2 separate regions of the Homo sapiens genome follow, and region 2 is linked to region 1. Evidence: promoter capture Hi-C in human tissues and cell types (Jung and others, 2019). All regions are on one chromosome and are shown on one strand. The core of a region is centred on a gene start or on the middle of the fragment in contact, and the rest is flanking DNA. Distances in the headings are between cores, read along the strand shown. Region 1 holds the start of ELAVL3 (ELAV like RNA binding protein 3). Region 2 holds the start of DOCK6 (dedicator of cytokinesis 6).

Region 1 (7,755 bases), core at 1,373-3,872:
CCCAGCCTGCAGTAAGTGCACAGCCTGGGATGGTGGCTACATGGGCATCAAAGGGACTTCGGCGACTGGCCCCAGACAGAGATGGGGGGGTGGCAAAGTCAGGGAGGAGGAGGGCAGATAAAAGATGGAGGGTTAGGGAAGCTTCCCATTCTCTCCAGTGCTTCTTCTAAGTCTCCCCCGACTTTTGGTTTCTCTCTCCCTCTTTCTTCCTCTGTTTCCCTCTCTTCTCCACTGTCCTGCCCTCTCTCTGAACCGTTCTGTGTCCCTGGCCTCATCACTCTCTCTTCCTCTTTTCCACCATCGCACATACATCTGACGTATGGGTTTTGCAGTGAACACACCTGAGGCCACTTTTTTCTTAAAACCTCCTGTGTCTGACCCCCACGGCCCCCAGCTGCGGCCCCTGGCCCCAGTCACAGTGACAGATGCCTGGATACCGGCGACAATAGGGCATTGAGTGGCTATGCATGGTGAGGCTGGGCTACCACGTGGTGCTGACTGAGCCTCCTACTTCTGGGCCCTTCTTCAATGCAGGGTCCTCCTGGTCTTAATTTGTCACCTCTCTTCCTCCCAGCCTGTCCCCATGATACATCTCTGCCCCAGGGCTCGCTCACTGGAGAACCTAGGTCCTCAAGGCCCTTGTGTGACCTCTGACCACACCCTCTTTCCCTTTGTGCATTAGTTTCCTTTTTCAAATGAGAGAACCGATCAGAGGACGCTTAGGAGATGCTGGACTGTTGCGGGAGTTCTGAGGTCCTCAGGAGGCCACACTCCAGTTCCCAGACCTGGGTGAACAGCACGAGGCCCAGAGAGGGAAAGGAACGGCCTGAGGTCACACAGCAGGTGAGCCAGGCCTCCGGGACCTCATTTCTCAGAGCCAGGTGGGCGGGTCCCAGGGTCCAGGAGGGGAGAGGCTTAGGCATGGAGGGAGCGCCAATCATGCCCCCACCCCCAGTGCTAGCCACGACTCGAAAAAGGGGCCCGGAAAGAGACACAATGCACAGAGACACACACGCAGAGACGGAGAGATAGGAAGAGTGGAAGAGGGAGGCCCAGGCGCCGGGACCAGACAAAGGACGCGCGGCGGCGCGGGGAGCGGAGTCGCGCGGCAGGGGCGGGGGTGGAGCCGGGGTGGGGCTATAACTGGCCAGCCCCGCCCCCGGGATACGCCCGGGCTGCCGAGTGGGAATCCGAGGGCTCGGGCGAGGCCGGGCCCCCGGGGCCCTGGGGGCGGGGCCTAGATGGGCGTGCCCGGGCGTGGCCAGGCAGGGCGTGGCAGGGCGGGAGGGGCTGCGCGCTCGGGAGCTGACCAGCTCCGTGGCTGCTGAAAGCACCGAGCGCGGGGCTAGCGGTGCGGGCGAGCAGGCGGGCGGGCCGCGCTCAAGGTCACCTCGCGGCCCAGAGCCTTGGCGAGGTGGGGAGCCTGGACCTGGCCTAAGGGGGCTGTCTCGGCCTCCCACCCCATCTCCCGGGGGGCGGAGACCCGGGAGCCCAGAGGTGCCCCCCCAACCCGCGGGCCCTCCTCTCCCCTCCCCCTCCCCGCAGCCCGAGGCGCCCGCGCGAGGCTGCGGCCCGCGAAGAAGCGCCGAGAAACAAAGGGACGCGGCAGCAGCGGCGGCGGGCCCGCGGGGCCTCCGGGCGCGCCCCCTCCTCTCCCCTCCCCGCTTGCCGCAAGGTCGACGGGCTCGAGGACGAGACGCCCGCCTCCCGGGTGCGGCCGAGGCCCGGGGCGCGCGATCCGACGCCACCCGCTTTCCCAGGGCTCTCGGGGACGCTTTGTCGCTTTGGCTTGGCCCAGCACCAGTGATCGGGCCCTGCGTTTGCCTGGGCGGCCTGCGGGGTCTGGGCCTGGATGGAGGAAGCATCCTTAGCCGCCGCGGCCCCTCCCCCATCAGGCCTGCTGGAGAGGGGGCAATCCCGCCTCCAGGGCGGCGTCGGACGCCTCCCGAATCGCAGTCAGTCTCCCTAAGGCCCTCTCAGACCAAGCTCTAAGCGCCCTCAGCACTCTGGGCGCGGCCCTGCCCACTCTCAGGCCCCGAGGCTTGGTCCTACCCCCCCAACCCGGGCCTAGCTAGGCCTGGTCCTACCCCCCCCGCCGCACCCGCCCAATCTCCGCGGAGCCTGGGCCCAACTCCTCCCCGTCCCGATTCCCTTTCGGCGACAGGGGAATACCTACAGTGACCATTCTTGTGTGCCCGGCGGGCGCGGTCCGTGTTGAGGGGGGCTCCGGGGGTGGTGCACTCCTAGGGGGGCGCCCGATGCTCACGCTGGGGTCCCGCCCGGGCGGCCTCTGGTGCGGCCGCTGCAGATGTGGCGATGAAGGCGGCGGCTCCCTCGAGGGCCAGGGACGGGCCCGAACCCGGGGATGCGCGCGCGGATGGCCGGGCCCCGGGGTGGCCTGCGGGCGGCAGGGGATGGAAAGAGGGAGCGGGCGCGGGGTTGAGGACGCCCCCTGCGCGGCCCCGCGGGGCCCGGGGAGGTTGCGCTTCCCGACAGAGATCGCGGCGCTCTGCCTTTCGCCGCCGCCCCTCGGTCGGTCCTGTCCGGTCCCGTGTGTTCAAGTCCTCTCCCCTCGCCCACCCTCCCTCCCTCCCTCCGGCCCGCGCTGCGCGCTCCGCGCTCTGGACCGCGCCGCCGCCGCCCCCAGCCCTTTATAGCAGCAGCTGCCAGCGCCGGCGTCGCTCATTGGCTGCGGCGACCGAGCTCCGCCTCCTCGCGGCTCCCGACGGCGCGGCAGGTGGAAGTGAGCGCGCACTGGTCGGGACTCTGAATCCCCCAAAAGCGCATCCTAGGTGCTCGGGTTGCCAGATTTGGGCCCTCCTTCCCTCGAGGCCCTTGCTTCCTACCCTGGCACCCCTTCTTGGGCTGGCTTTCGGGCCAGGAGACGGGCTCCCCTCCTCCGTCCAGCTCCTAGAGCTGGAGGAGCCAACAGAGCGAGGAGGTATTAGTGGCCTGAATATGCGACCTTCCAGAGGTGTTGTCCACTGAGGGAACTGGACAGGGGATCAGGAACCAATATTTTAGTAGGCAGAGGCCTGGGTCCCCAGATTTGGAGGCACCAGTGTAGACCACCTCAAGACCACGGGGGAGGGTGGCTACTGTGGCCCTAGTCTTCTGCAGAAGGAGACTGGGACGCTGTTGGTTTTGAGTGAGCTGGATCCTTCTAGGGTTCAAAAGGTAAGGACTGGCACTCCCCAGTGCAAGGAAACTCCGCACTGCTCCGAAGGGGGTGAAAAGGTTTGGGGCTCAGTGTTCTGGACAATCATCGCTGGAGCCATGCAGCTCTGGGAAACCACGGATCCTTCTTGGACCCCACAGAACTGGGGTGGGTGGATCTGCCACATAAATGTCCTGGCTTTCTAGGCTCGTGATTGGTCCTCCTGACTGTGGAGTCATGCTCGCTCTCTGCTAGGGGGAACCTGGCCTCTCTCTAAGGCGTTGGGGGTGGCGCAGCCTCCTTTGGTGCGCGGGCGCCGGTGCATGTTTACGTCGGGGCGCGGGAACTAGCACACACTGGGGCGGGGTCGCCAGGGCGTGAGGCTTCAGCACCACAGACAGCAATCCGACAGTCCGGTCGAGGGCGCTGCCGGCGAGGTAGCCCAGACCCCCTAACTGGAGAGCGGCAGTCCCCACCCAATCCTCGTTCCTGCACGCCCTTTAGGCTCCAGACTGTCAGAGAGCGCCACCAGCGAGGAGAGCCTAATTTGCCCAATCAGGGGCGGCCCTTGAGATAACCAGTTACTGGAAGATGCCCTAGAGATCGAGCCAATGGGAGTGCGCGCACCAGGGGATGCTGCCACGCCTGGAAAGGGCAGGCCAATCGCAGTGGCCCGCGCAATAGGGGCGGTGGCGGTGCAGATCCCCGGGTGGCCCCTCTTGGGCTCGCCGGGGCGACCTGGCTGCGGGCGCTAGGGGCCCCAAGCGATGGTCTGTTCCCCACCCCGTGTTCCTCCCGGTTTCCGTCATCGGAAACTGAGCTAGGAGGGGGGCTGCTCCTGGGCGCGCGGACCCCGCTGCGGTTCCCATGGAAACCTGCCGGCTCCGGCAGTGCGGGGAGAGTGGAGGGGACCTGCCTCGCGGGGGGAGGGAGCTCGCGGGGGCGGCCCCAGCGGCCGGACTCGCTCATCCTTGCCGATTCTTCTGTCCCCGGCTGGGGTAGCCCCCCGGTCCGCAGCAGGAACTGAGGCATAGCTGGGGCCCCGCCTCATCCCCCGAACTGGTGAGGAACCGGCGGGGCCAATCTGCGCGTGGCGCCACAGGGCTCCCCCGGGCACGTGCCTGAGCTCGCGGCTGCGGTCCCCAGGGTCACGTGGCTGCGGCCACCAGGGCCTACGCGCCTCGCACGCCACCTAGCGGCCGCGCCTCGCTCCCCGCCCCTCTCTCTAGCGGCCCGCAGGAGGCGGCGGCCTCAGCATCCTCCTCCGGGAAATGGGGCCAGGGCAGCCGCCGCCAACTCCCCTTCCCCCCGCGGCTTCCTGTTTTAGGAACACGCCGAGCTAGTTCTACCTCGGGGTTTTGGCACTGGTTGTTCCTCTGGCCTGAGAATTTCCTCCCCCAGCTTTCTTCTGGGATAGATCTTTGTCATTCTGGTCTATGCGCAAATGCCACCTCCTCAGAGGCCCTCCCTGACCACCGACCTAAACAGCATCCCCGGAAAACAACGCATCACTCTCTCTTTTGCATGGCGCTTGTCGCTAGCTGCAAATGTTTCTCATTTTAGGGGTTTACTGAACACCTCCCCATCTCATCCCGGAGCTCACTGAGGGTGGGAGATGGGTGCCCCATAAAACAGGAGGAAGTGGAAATTAGGGTCCTGAGTTCCGGGAGATGCCCAGAGACCCCAGACCCCCAAGCCTCACCCCATCCTGTGGGAGCAGGGGCTGTGCGAGGCTGCTGGGCCCAGGGGCATCCCTCGTTCCCTGCCTCGCTTAGGAAGGGATCAAGTAGGCTGGAGACAGAGAGGGGCCTGGCACCCCAAATCATTCAGGCCTAGGGGAAGGGCATCTCCTTTCTCGCTCTTTAATCTCACTCTGCTCTCTTGACACAGTTCCAGCAATGCAGCCCCAGGCACCAGCTCCGAGAAGGATGCGGTGGGGCGGGGTGGGGAACCTGCCCAGGGGGCCCAGCTCTGGGGCGGGGCGGGGGCGCCTCCTTCCGGCCCGCGGTCCGGGCGGCCCTCGCAGCTGTCCAGGCCCCGGCAAGCCCGGGCGTGGTGTCCGAGCGGACGAATAAATAGGGGCGGTCAGTGGTCAGGTGGGTCAGGTGGGCTTGTGATCCGGGTGGCTTTTGAGCGTGTGGAACTTGACGCTGTCCAGCTTCTCGAAGCGCTTCCCGCAGCGATCGCACGTGAAGTTGTACTGCACCTCCGCAGTGTGCTTCTTCATGTGCCAGTTGAGCGACGCGCGCTGCCGGCACTGGTAGCCACAGATCTCGCACCTGCCGGGAGCCCGTGGCGGGACGGGGCGGGGTCAGAGTGGGCGGGGCGGGGCGGGGCCCTACAAGGCCGAGCGCAGGTGGAACCGGGCCCAGACACTGCGTTGGGGCGAAGCCGCCCCTGGGACCTGCTGGGATCCCCTCCCACCCAATCCTCTAGCGGCACGGGGCGGCCTGTCACTCACTGCAGGGGGGTCTCGCCGGTGTGGGTGCGCCGATGTACCTCCAGGTGGTTCTTCCTCTTGAAGGACTTGCCGCAGGTCTCGCAGGTGAATTCACGGACACCTGGGGGCGGTGGGGACCGAGGCTGAGGACGGTGGGCTATGGGGTGTCTCTGATGTGCTGCAGACTCTGATGCTAGAAGGAGCATCAGGCTGTCTCCTTGGATCTCCCAGGACTGCAGGTGCAGGCCGACCAAACCCTACGTCCTTCCCGTGCATTTGCCCACAGACGCCATCAAGCAGAACTGAGATCGAACTTGGGTCCCTGAGAGGCATAGGGTGCACACTACCAAGCCAACATGGGTCTGAATTTGTCTTGTGTGTGTGTATATATATATTTTGCGACGGAGTTTCGCTCTTGTTGCCCAGGCTGGAGTGCAATGGCCCGATCTCGGCTTACCGCAACCACAACCTTGGTCTCGCGGGTTCAAGCGATTCTTCTGCCTCAGCCTCCTGAGTAGCTGGGATTACAGGCATGTGCCACCAACCATGCCCAGCTAATTTTGTATTTTTAGTAGAGACGGGGTTTCTCTATGTTGGTCAGGCTGGTCTCGAACTCCTGACCTCAGGTGATCTGCCCACCTCAGCCTCCCAAAGGGCTGGGATTACCACCACGCCCGGCCTTGTCCCTGATATTTGAACTTTGGGTGATTTCGCAAAATGAAAACAAAAACAAAAACAAAAAAAACTTCTGCCCAGCACGGTGGCTCACACCTATAATCCCAGCACTTAGGGAGGCCAAGGTGGGCAGATCGCCTGAGATCAGGAGTTGGAGACAAGCCTGGCTAACATGGCGAAACCCTGTCCCTACTAAAAAAAAAAAATTAGCTGGCATGGTGGTGAGCGCCTGTAATCCCAGATACTTGGGAGGCTGGGGCAGAAGAATTGCTTGAACCCGGGAGGCAGAGGCTGCAGTGAGCCAAGATCGGATTCCAGCCCGGGCAACAGAGTGAGACTCTGTTGCAAAAAATAACCACACACACATTAAAAAAAACCAAAAAAAACAAAAAAAACCCCCAAACTTCTGACCTCCTGTGATATCAGAAGCTCTGGCCCTCAGGGCATGCCCTATCGCTGGACACAGGCACCATGGCTCTCCACTATGTCCCCAGCCCATGCAGAAGACCTGCATCTCTGCCACAAGTGGAAACAGAAGCCCAGTCCCAAGCCAGCTGCTCCTCTTTGCCCAGCTCTCCTTCCTGCTGCTGCTTGGGTGGGCACTGGTCTAGCCTGTGGCCCCAGGTGCTGCTATAGGTTCCAATCTGGAAGAGCAGTGGCGGTGTCAGCTGCTCCCTAAGTCTCGCATGAGACCTGCTCTTGGGATCATGGGGCATGGGGTCGCGGGGATAGGAGGGAAGATGGCCAGCCCCACCCAATTCCTGTGATTGATTGGTAATAGTTCCTGTCGCTGTGGCTCACATAGCTACAGCTTACTGAGGACAGGGAGGAGGCTCCTAGGGGTGTAGTCCTGTGCCCGGAGACCCAGCACTGGGCTTTGACCCGCCAGCTCTGGCCCAGGCTCCCAGGCCCATGTCCCTGTGTCCCCCGCTCATGCTGCCAGCTGGCCCAGGGCCTGACCTGAATGGATGATCATGTGCCGCCGCAGGTGGTTGGATAAATAGAACTTCTTGCCACAGCCAGGATGAGGGCACACTTTGGTCTTTCCTTTCCGATGCACAAGATTGACGTGGTTCTGGAGACGAGACAGGCAGAAGTGGGTCCCATAGGCCCACAGAAGGGGCTCTGGGAGGTGGGGAGAGATGAGGGCAGCTGGAAGGCAGGCTGGGGCTGGCCTCCCCAGGAGGAGGGAAGAGGGGTACCCTTGCCCAGCTCAGAGATTCCCAGGGGCACAACTGGGGTCAAAGGGTAGCTTTATTTTTTTTATTTTTTGAGATGGAGTCTTGCTCTGTCGCCCAGGCTGGAGTGCAGTGGTGTTCTCTCAGCTCACTGCAAGCTCCACCCCCCCGGGTTCACACCATTCTCCTGCCACAGCCTCCTGAGTAGCTGGGAGTACAGGCGCCCGCCACCACGCCCGGCTGCTATTATTTTTTTCTGTATTTTTTAGTACAGACAGGGTTTCACCGTGTTAACCAGGATGGTC
Region 2 (7,755 bases), core at 2,389-4,888, 220 kb before region 1:
AATTGGGATTACAGGCACTCGCCACCATGCCTGGCTAATTTTTATATTTTTCGTAGAGATGGGGTTTCACCATCTACAGACCCGAACTCCTGACCTCAGGTGATCCACCTGCCTCAGCCTCCCAAAGTGCTCGGATTATAGGCATGAGCCACCATACCCAGGCTACTTTCTTTTTCTTTCTTTTGAGACAGGGTCTCACTCTGTCACTCAGGCTGGAGTGCAGTGGCGCAATCACGGCTCACTGCAGCCTCAACCTCCTGGGCTCCAGCAATCCTCTCATCTCAGCCTCCCCAGGAGCTGGGACTACAGGTATGAGCCACCATCACACCTGGGTAATTTTGTTTCTTGCAGAGACAGGGTCTCGCTATGTTGCCCAGGCTGGTCTTGAACTCCTGGCCTCCCAAAGTGGTAGGATTACAGGTGTGAGCCATCATACCTGGCCCAAAATTTGTAGTTTTTGGTATGAATGTTGTATGTTACAGTTGTTTAAATGGTAAAAAATAACAATATATGTATGTGCTTGTGTTTGCCAATATATTCAAGGATGGGGGAGAGAGAGAGAGAGAGAGAGATGTTTACCTGAAATTTCAGTGGTAACTTTGGGATTTTGAAATTTGTCAATAAATACCTCATTTTCTTCCCACCCCTCCAATGAATCATTATTTCTTTTCTTTTTTTTTTTTTTTTTTTGAGATGGAGTCTCGCTCTGTCGCTCAGGCTGGAGTGCAGTGGCGGGATCTCGGCTCACTGCAACCTCTACCTCCCAGGTTCAAGCAATTCTCCTGCCTAAGCCTCCCGAGTAGCTGGGATTACAGGCGTGCGTCACCACGCTTTTGTAAATTTGTAAAGTTACAAAAAGCTAACTTTTTGTATTTTTAGTAGAGACGGAGTTTCACCATGTTGGCCAGGCTGGTCTCGAACTCCTGACCTCAGGTGATCCACCTGCCTCGGCCTCCCAAAGTCTGGGATTACAGACCTGGGCCGCCGCGCCCGGCCTTTTTTTTTTTTTTTTTTTTGAGACAGAGTCTTACTCTGTCACCCAGGCTGGAGTGCAGTGGCACGATCTCTGCTCACTGCAACCTCCACCTCCTGGGTTCAAGTGATCCTCCTGCCTCAGCCTCTGGAGTAGCTGGAAGATTGTCTAATATTCGGGTTAATCTGGTATTTGTGGAATAAATGACTGAATGGATGAACAGATGAATATAGGACCAGCTCTGAGTATGTAGACACCTGGGTGCCCAAGAGCGAAGTTGCTCTGGAAGCCCTGGGCCACTCCCTCACAGTTCACTAGGGCCCCAGGATCATTCTCTACTCTTACCCTGAGCTCTACAGTATCCAAAACCCCTCTTTCTCACTTGAGTAAAAACCAGGACCCAAGGACATACAGACCAAAATGCAAAGAAACAGACAGCAAGCTGGGCGCAATGGCTCACGCCTGTAATCCCAGCATTTGGGAGGCCGAGGCAGGAGGATCACTTGAGCCCAGGAGTTTGAGGCCAGCCTGGGCAAGATAGTGAGATCCCGTTTCTACAAAAGGTTAAAAAGTTAGCTGAGTGTTGCAGCATACACCTGTAGTCCCAGCTACTTGGGAGGCTGAGGCAGGAGGATCACTTGAGCCCGGGAGATTGAGACTGCAGTGAGCCAAGGTATCACCACTGCACTCCAGTCTGGGTGACAGAGCAAGACCCTGTCTCAAAAAAAGAAAAGGAAAAAAAAAAAAAGCCTGGGTGCAGTGGCTCACACCTGTAATCCCAGCACTTTGGGAGGTGGGCGGATCACCTGAGGTCAGGAGTTCGTGACCAGCCTGGTCAACATGGTGAAACCCCCTCTCTACTAAAAATACAAAAATTAGCTGGGTGTGGTAGTGGGCGCCTGTAACCCCAGCTACTCAGGAGGCTGAGGCACAAGAATCGCTTGAACCCAGGAGGCGAAGGTTGCAGTGAGCCAAGATTGTGCCATTGCACTCCAGTTTGGGTGACAGAGCGAGACTCTGTCTCAAAAAAAAAAAAAGAAAGAAAGAAAGAAAAGAAAAAGAAAAGGAAAGAAAAAGAAACAGACAGCAATAATGTTTGCAGCCTCAAAGACGCCAAAGGTCTAAGACATTTTGAAAGCCAATTTACAGACAAAGATAATGATAGAACATAAAAATTGCCCAGCCATTACGCCCCAGCCACCAAGTCTCATCCCTCCTCTGCTGAGAACTCCCCATGGCTCCCACCTCACCTGGGGTCCAAAGTCAAAGTCCCTTGCACAGCCCACACGACCCTGTACATTCTACTCTTACTGTCCCCCTCCAGCTCTCTGTTCCTGCCTCAGGGCCTTTGCACAAACCCTTCCCACTCTTTCCCCCCACAAACTGGCCTCGATCGATCCCTCTCTCATCTCCTTGAGGTTTTTGCTCAAAGGCACCTGCTCATCCAGGCCTTCCTGACCCACCTCCCGCATCTCAAGCAGCCCCCACCCTCCCATCCCCCTTCCCTGTCTTCTTGTCCCTACAGCACTTGTCACTGACAGGTAATCTACTCGATCAGGCTTCTGGTCTCTCTCCGCCACTATATCCCAAGAGGGGGATCTTTTGTCTCCATAAGACCAGGGCCCAACCCACAGGGCAGCTCTTTCACCTGGGGGCAGTCAGGACAGGTCCCCCGGGGAGAGGATACCTGAGCTTCTGAACGCACCCTTGTCGCAAAGACCCCCCGCCAACTGGGGGCGAGGCTTTTCAGCCCCAGAGAGTCTGATATACCCCTCCCAGGCTGTGACTCTCACAATCCCCAGTGGCCACGGAAATGGATCCCCCAGCGCCTGGGGCCTGTCCCCTCCCCCGTCTGCCCACCAGCTGGTTCTGTCCCCAGCCCCCACTCCCTCCATTCAATCACCCATCCATCCCCAGCGCGGTCCAGCCCGTGACGGGAGAGCCTGAAGCAGAAGGTGGGGGGGCGTCCACAGCTGTCCCCCTTCCCCCCCCCCGACAGCTGGGCACTGGACCCTGGAGGGGGAAGGGCACGGGAAACTCCTCGAGGGGTTTCAAACGCCACCAAGGAGCCCATCTCTGTCCCCAAATCTCAGAGCCTGGAGCCTCCCTGCCCCAAACCAGGCACTGAGGAAGGAACAGAAAGTCCGGCCCACCCCGATCTCCGAGAGCGCGGGGACAGTGAGGGGCCGAGAGGCGGACGGGGAGCGCAGGGAGTTCAGGGGGCGCCCGTCATCCGCATCCCCACGCCACCTCCTCCGGGAAGCCCTCCGGACACACCCCCGCGCGTCACGGAGGCAGAACGGCAGCCGCCATCGCGCTCCCAGCCCCGACGCGACTCCCATCTGGGACCCCCGCCGGGACCCCCGCGGCCCTCCCCGCCTTCTCCCGCTCCCAGCCCCGGCCGGAGGAAGCTGGCGGGACCCGGGCCGAGGCGGAAAGGGGTTGAATTGGGGGCGCCCGGGCGGGGAGGGTCGCACCGCCCCGGGGCGGAGCCGGGCCACGTGGGGGAGGTGGGAGGGGGCCCCGCGGCCACACTACCTGTTGATCTTGTGCGCGAAGGCGCGGCGCTCGGAGGCAGCCATGGTCCTCGCGTCCCGCCGCCGCCGCCCCGGGCCCCGGCCCCGCCGCCGCCGCCGCCTCCCGGTTCTGGGCAGCCGGGGCGGGGCGGGGCCGGCGCGGGGGCGGGGCCCTTCCGGGTGGCCCGGGCCGCTCCGTGCTGCCCCTGCAGGCCGGAGGGGTCGCCTGGAGTCCTGGGGGCTGGGGAAACTGAGGCTGGGGACGGAGAGGAGGCCCCGGGATCCAGGCTGGGCGGGCCCCAGACTCCCGGGCTGGGGGGACGCTCTTTCTACCCTAGGAGAAGGGCTGGGGAAACTGAGGCTGAGGAGGGAAGTTAGGGAGAGGAGGCGCTGGGACCCAGACTGGGGGTGCCCCAGACTCCCGAGCTGGCGGGGGCGCTCTTTCCACCCTGGGAGCTGGGCTGGAGAAACTGAGCCTGAGGAGGGAGGGAGGGAAGGGAGGCGCTGAGACCCGGGCTAGGTGGACCCCAGGCTCCCGGGGTTTAGTGGGGTGGTCTTACCACCCCAGGAGCAGGGCTGGGGAAACTGAAGCTCAGGAGGGAGGGAGGGAGGGGAGGCGCTGGGACCCAGGCTGGGTAGGCCCCAGATTTCCGGGGTTTGGGGGGCGCTCTTTCTGCCCTCTGACTCCTGGCTGGAAAACAATAACGATGTTCATGTATCTAATAATCATACCTGTAAGTATAATCGTGGCCGTGCATGGTGGCTCATGCCTGTAATCCCAGCACTGTGGGGGGCCAAGGCAGGAGGATTGTTTGAGCCCAGGAGTTGGAGACCAGCCTGGGCAACATAATGAGACCCCGTGTCCACAAAAAATGCAAAAATTAACCAGGCATGGTGGTGTGTGCCTGTAATCTCAGCTACTTGGGAGTCTGAGGGAGGAGGATCGCTTGAGCCTGGGAGGTCAAGGCTGCAGTGAGCTGTGATTGTGCCATTTCAATCCAGCCTGGGTGACAGAGCGAGACCCTGTCTCAAAAAGTCTAATTGCTAAGATGTCATTGAGCCTGGCCCTGCAATTCACACATGCAGAAGAAATTATTGTTTTCCTCCTTTTACAGATGAGTAAACTGAGGCACAGAGGTGTTCGGGTGCTTGCTCAGTGTGACTCACAGGGGTCTCCAGCGCCTGCATTGTCCGTGCTCCCAGTCTACAGCATGGGAGTCAGAGGAGCCTGGCTAGGCACTGGAGTGCTCGGAGATGTGCCCCAGGTCCAGGTGGTGGGACCTGAGTGAGCCAGTTTGGGAGTCTAGACTTTCGGGGCCGCCTCTACCAAGAGGAAGAGGTGGGGATGTCTTGGTTAATCTATGGTCTCAAATCTCTCCCCACTGGCCTCTCTCCCAGCACTGCTGCAGCATTTTTAGAGAATTCTCCAGCCGACACTCCCCTCTGGAGGAGCTCACCCCTTTCTCACCTGCATGCCTCTGCACCGGCAGGTCCTTCCTCCTGGACAGCCCTTCTTTCCCTGGTCAGCAAATGCCCCAGGGAGAATTTGAGGTTGAATCAGACAAGGCCGTGGCTCTGCCTCAGGGCCTTTGCACGTGCTGTTCTCATTCCCATCTATGGGTTGCTGGCATTTTATCCTCTATTATTTATTTATTTATTTATTTATTTATTTATTTATTTATTTATTTATTTTGAGGTGGCATTTCGCTCTTGTTGCCCAGACTGGAGTGCAATGGCACAATCTCGGCTCACCGCAACCTCTGCCTCCCAGGTTCAAGCGATTCTCCTGCCTCAGCCTCCCGAGTAGCTGGGATTACAGGCACCCACCATCACACCTGGCTAATTTTTTGTATTTTTAGTAGAGACGGGGTTTCACCATGTTGGCCAGGCTGGTCTGGAGCTCCTGACCTCAGGTGATCCACCCGCCTCGGCCTCCCAAAGTGCCGGGATTACAGGAATGAGCCACATGCCCACCCTGAGTCACCATGCACCCCCGAGACACAGTTTCTTGCCTTGCTGCCCAATGAATCCATGTCAGACCTTGAACCCACAGGAAAGAGGCCTGGATTGTAGGGGAACCCCCAAACCCTGCCAGTCAGACGCAGGATAGCATCCTGCTAGTCAGGCCGCAGTAGGGCTGCTCACAGCCTGGCATGTGACATGTGCACACAGCCCACGTGCCTGCCCGGAGTGGTCCAGCCACTTTGGCCAGGTGGAGCTCCGCCCATCACTCCCCGCCATGCCCCACCAAGTGTCCCCGCCTTGCCTCTCAGGCTGCTGGGAGCTAGGCTGGGCAGGAAATATGCAGATGAGCGAAGATTTGCACATTTCTTAGCCTAGTTCCAGTCCAGCCCCCTTTATATCCGGTCTCCCAGCTTCCTTTCTCATCCTCCCCCCAGCTTGTTCCTGCATCAGTGGCCAGGAAGAGCCTGGGAACACCTGCATCACTTCAGTTCCCTCCTCTGTTCAGAACCTTCCATGGCTCCCACCTCACTCAGGGTAAAAGCCAAAGTCCTCCCACAACCCGCCGGGCACAGTGGCTCCCTGTCATCCTGGCACTTTGGGAGGCCGAGGCGGGTGGATCACTTGAGGTCAGGAGCTCCAGACCAGCCTGGCCAACATGGCAAAACCCCGTCTCTACTAAAAATACAAAAAATAGCCGGGCATGGTGGTGGGAGCCTGAATCCCAGCTACTCGGGAGGCTGAGGCATGAGGATCGTCTGAACCCAGGAGGTGGAGGTTGTAGTGAGCTGAGATTGCGCCACTGCACTCTAGCCTGGGCGAGAGTGAGACCCTGTCTCAAAACAACAACAACAACAAAACAACCAACAAACAAAACCAAAGTCCTCCCACAACCCACAAGGCCCAGCATGATCAACCCTGTCACCTCCCTGGCTTGCCTCTTCCTTTTCTTTCCCTCATTCACTCCACTCCAGCTGCCCCTGCCTCCTGGATGCTTCTCTAAACACCAGGACACAGCTCCACTCAAGGACCTTTGCATGTTCTGTTCCCTTTCCCACATATGGGCGTTGCCAGTAGCCCCCTTTTACAGATAAGGAAACTGAAGAACACCCAGAGAGGGGACTCGCCCTAATGTAGCCTAGTGAATCAGTGTCAGATCCAAGATTTGACTCCAGGGAGCCTGATCCCAAAGCGGTTGTCTCTAAAGTCTCACTGGGTCTCCATCAGACCTGGCTGTGTGACCCAGGATAAATTGCTCAACTTCTCTGAGCCCCAGTTTCCTTGTTTGCTCCCTGAGAGTTCGTGGTTGGTCACAGCTTGAGACCCAGACATCAGGAGGTAGGTTGAGCCATGGAGCAGCAAACTTCAGGGCCTTGTCAGGGCCCATTCCCTGTCGAAGCCCAAGGGGGTTTTGAGCTCAGCGACTCCATGTCCTGCCTTGGTGGAAACGCTGCTTCAGAGATTGCTCCAATCAAAGGCCCTACCCCAGATGCCTCGAGCACAGTACCCGCCCCAGTGCCTGCCAGACCTGACTGGTGAGGCTATTTCTCTCCAGAGCACCACCAGCCCTGACTCAGCTGGGTGTGGCTGGGGTGCCCCTGACAGCTGATCAAACAGAGGCTGAGCGTGGTGGCGGGGACTTTGGCCTCCTCTGCTCTACTGCGTGGAGAACACGTTGCGGACATGAGGCTGGAGCTGGTGGACCAGGGAGGAGGGGCTGTACTGGTCCAGGTTAGGGATGATAGGCCTGGATGGGGTGAGGATACAGGGGAGGTGAGAAGTCGGTGGGCTCTGAGCAGATGGCTCACTGGTGGCTGGACAGTGAGTCCATCTGCAAGTTAGAGTAAGAGAGGAGTCAAAAACCGTCTCCTTCACCCACGCTGCTGCCTAATGCTGCTCCCTCCACGTGGAATGCTGTTCCATCCACTCCTCGTCTGCCTGCACCCTTCTTTGTCCCTTATATCTCAGCTTGGACATCCCTGCCTTTGCCCGCTGCCTCCGCCATGGAGGCCCCAGTCACGCCCCAGTTGCTGGGTTACCTTTCTCTGTGGGGTTCCCAGCACCTGACATTTAGTAGGAGCTCCATAAATACTGACTTTTTGGTTTTGCTCTTTTTTTTTTTTTTTTTTTTTGAGACAGGGTCTCACTCTGTTGTCCAGGCTGGAGTGCAGTGGCTCCAATATGGCTCACTGCAGCCTCCTCCTCCCAGGCTCAAGCAACCTTCATACCTCAGTCCCCAACTCTGGGACTACAGGCATGCACCACTATGGCCAGCTAATTTTTCTGATTTTTTTTGTAGAGACA

What was found. Contacts are between HindIII fragments. The study calls those that stand out against the background at their distance.
Region 2: a contact is called between the fragment with the promoter of DOCK6 here and the fragment with the promoter of ELAVL3 in region 1, in 14 of the 25 tissues and cell types used here (IMR-90 fibroblasts, bladder, dorsolateral prefrontal cortex and 11 more).

Annotation. Positions count from the first base shown.
Region 1 is chr19:11,478,424-11,486,178 of GRCh38, forward strand. ELAVL3 (ELAV like RNA binding protein 3) reads right to left here and starts at 2,623. Exons shown (of 7, transcript NM_001420.4): 1 at 2,177-2,623. The coding sequence starts at 2,185. ZNF653 (zinc finger protein 653) reads right to left here. Exons shown (of 9, transcript NM_138783.4): 7 at 7,233-7,347; 8 at 5,619-5,718; 9 at 5,006-5,436. The coding sequence ends at 5,259. RefSeq lists silencers at 1,141-1,335, 3,710-3,959, 3,990-4,429. The HindIII fragment of the contact is 31,814 bases long and covers 1-7,755 here.
Region 2 is chr19:11,258,886-11,266,640 of GRCh38, forward strand. DOCK6 (dedicator of cytokinesis 6) reads right to left here and starts at 3,639. Exons shown (of 48, transcript NM_020812.4): 1 at 3,512-3,639. The coding sequence starts at 3,555. RefSeq lists silencers at 3,214-3,353, 3,434-3,493, 3,564-3,723. The HindIII fragment of the contact is 27,433 bases long and covers 1-7,755 here.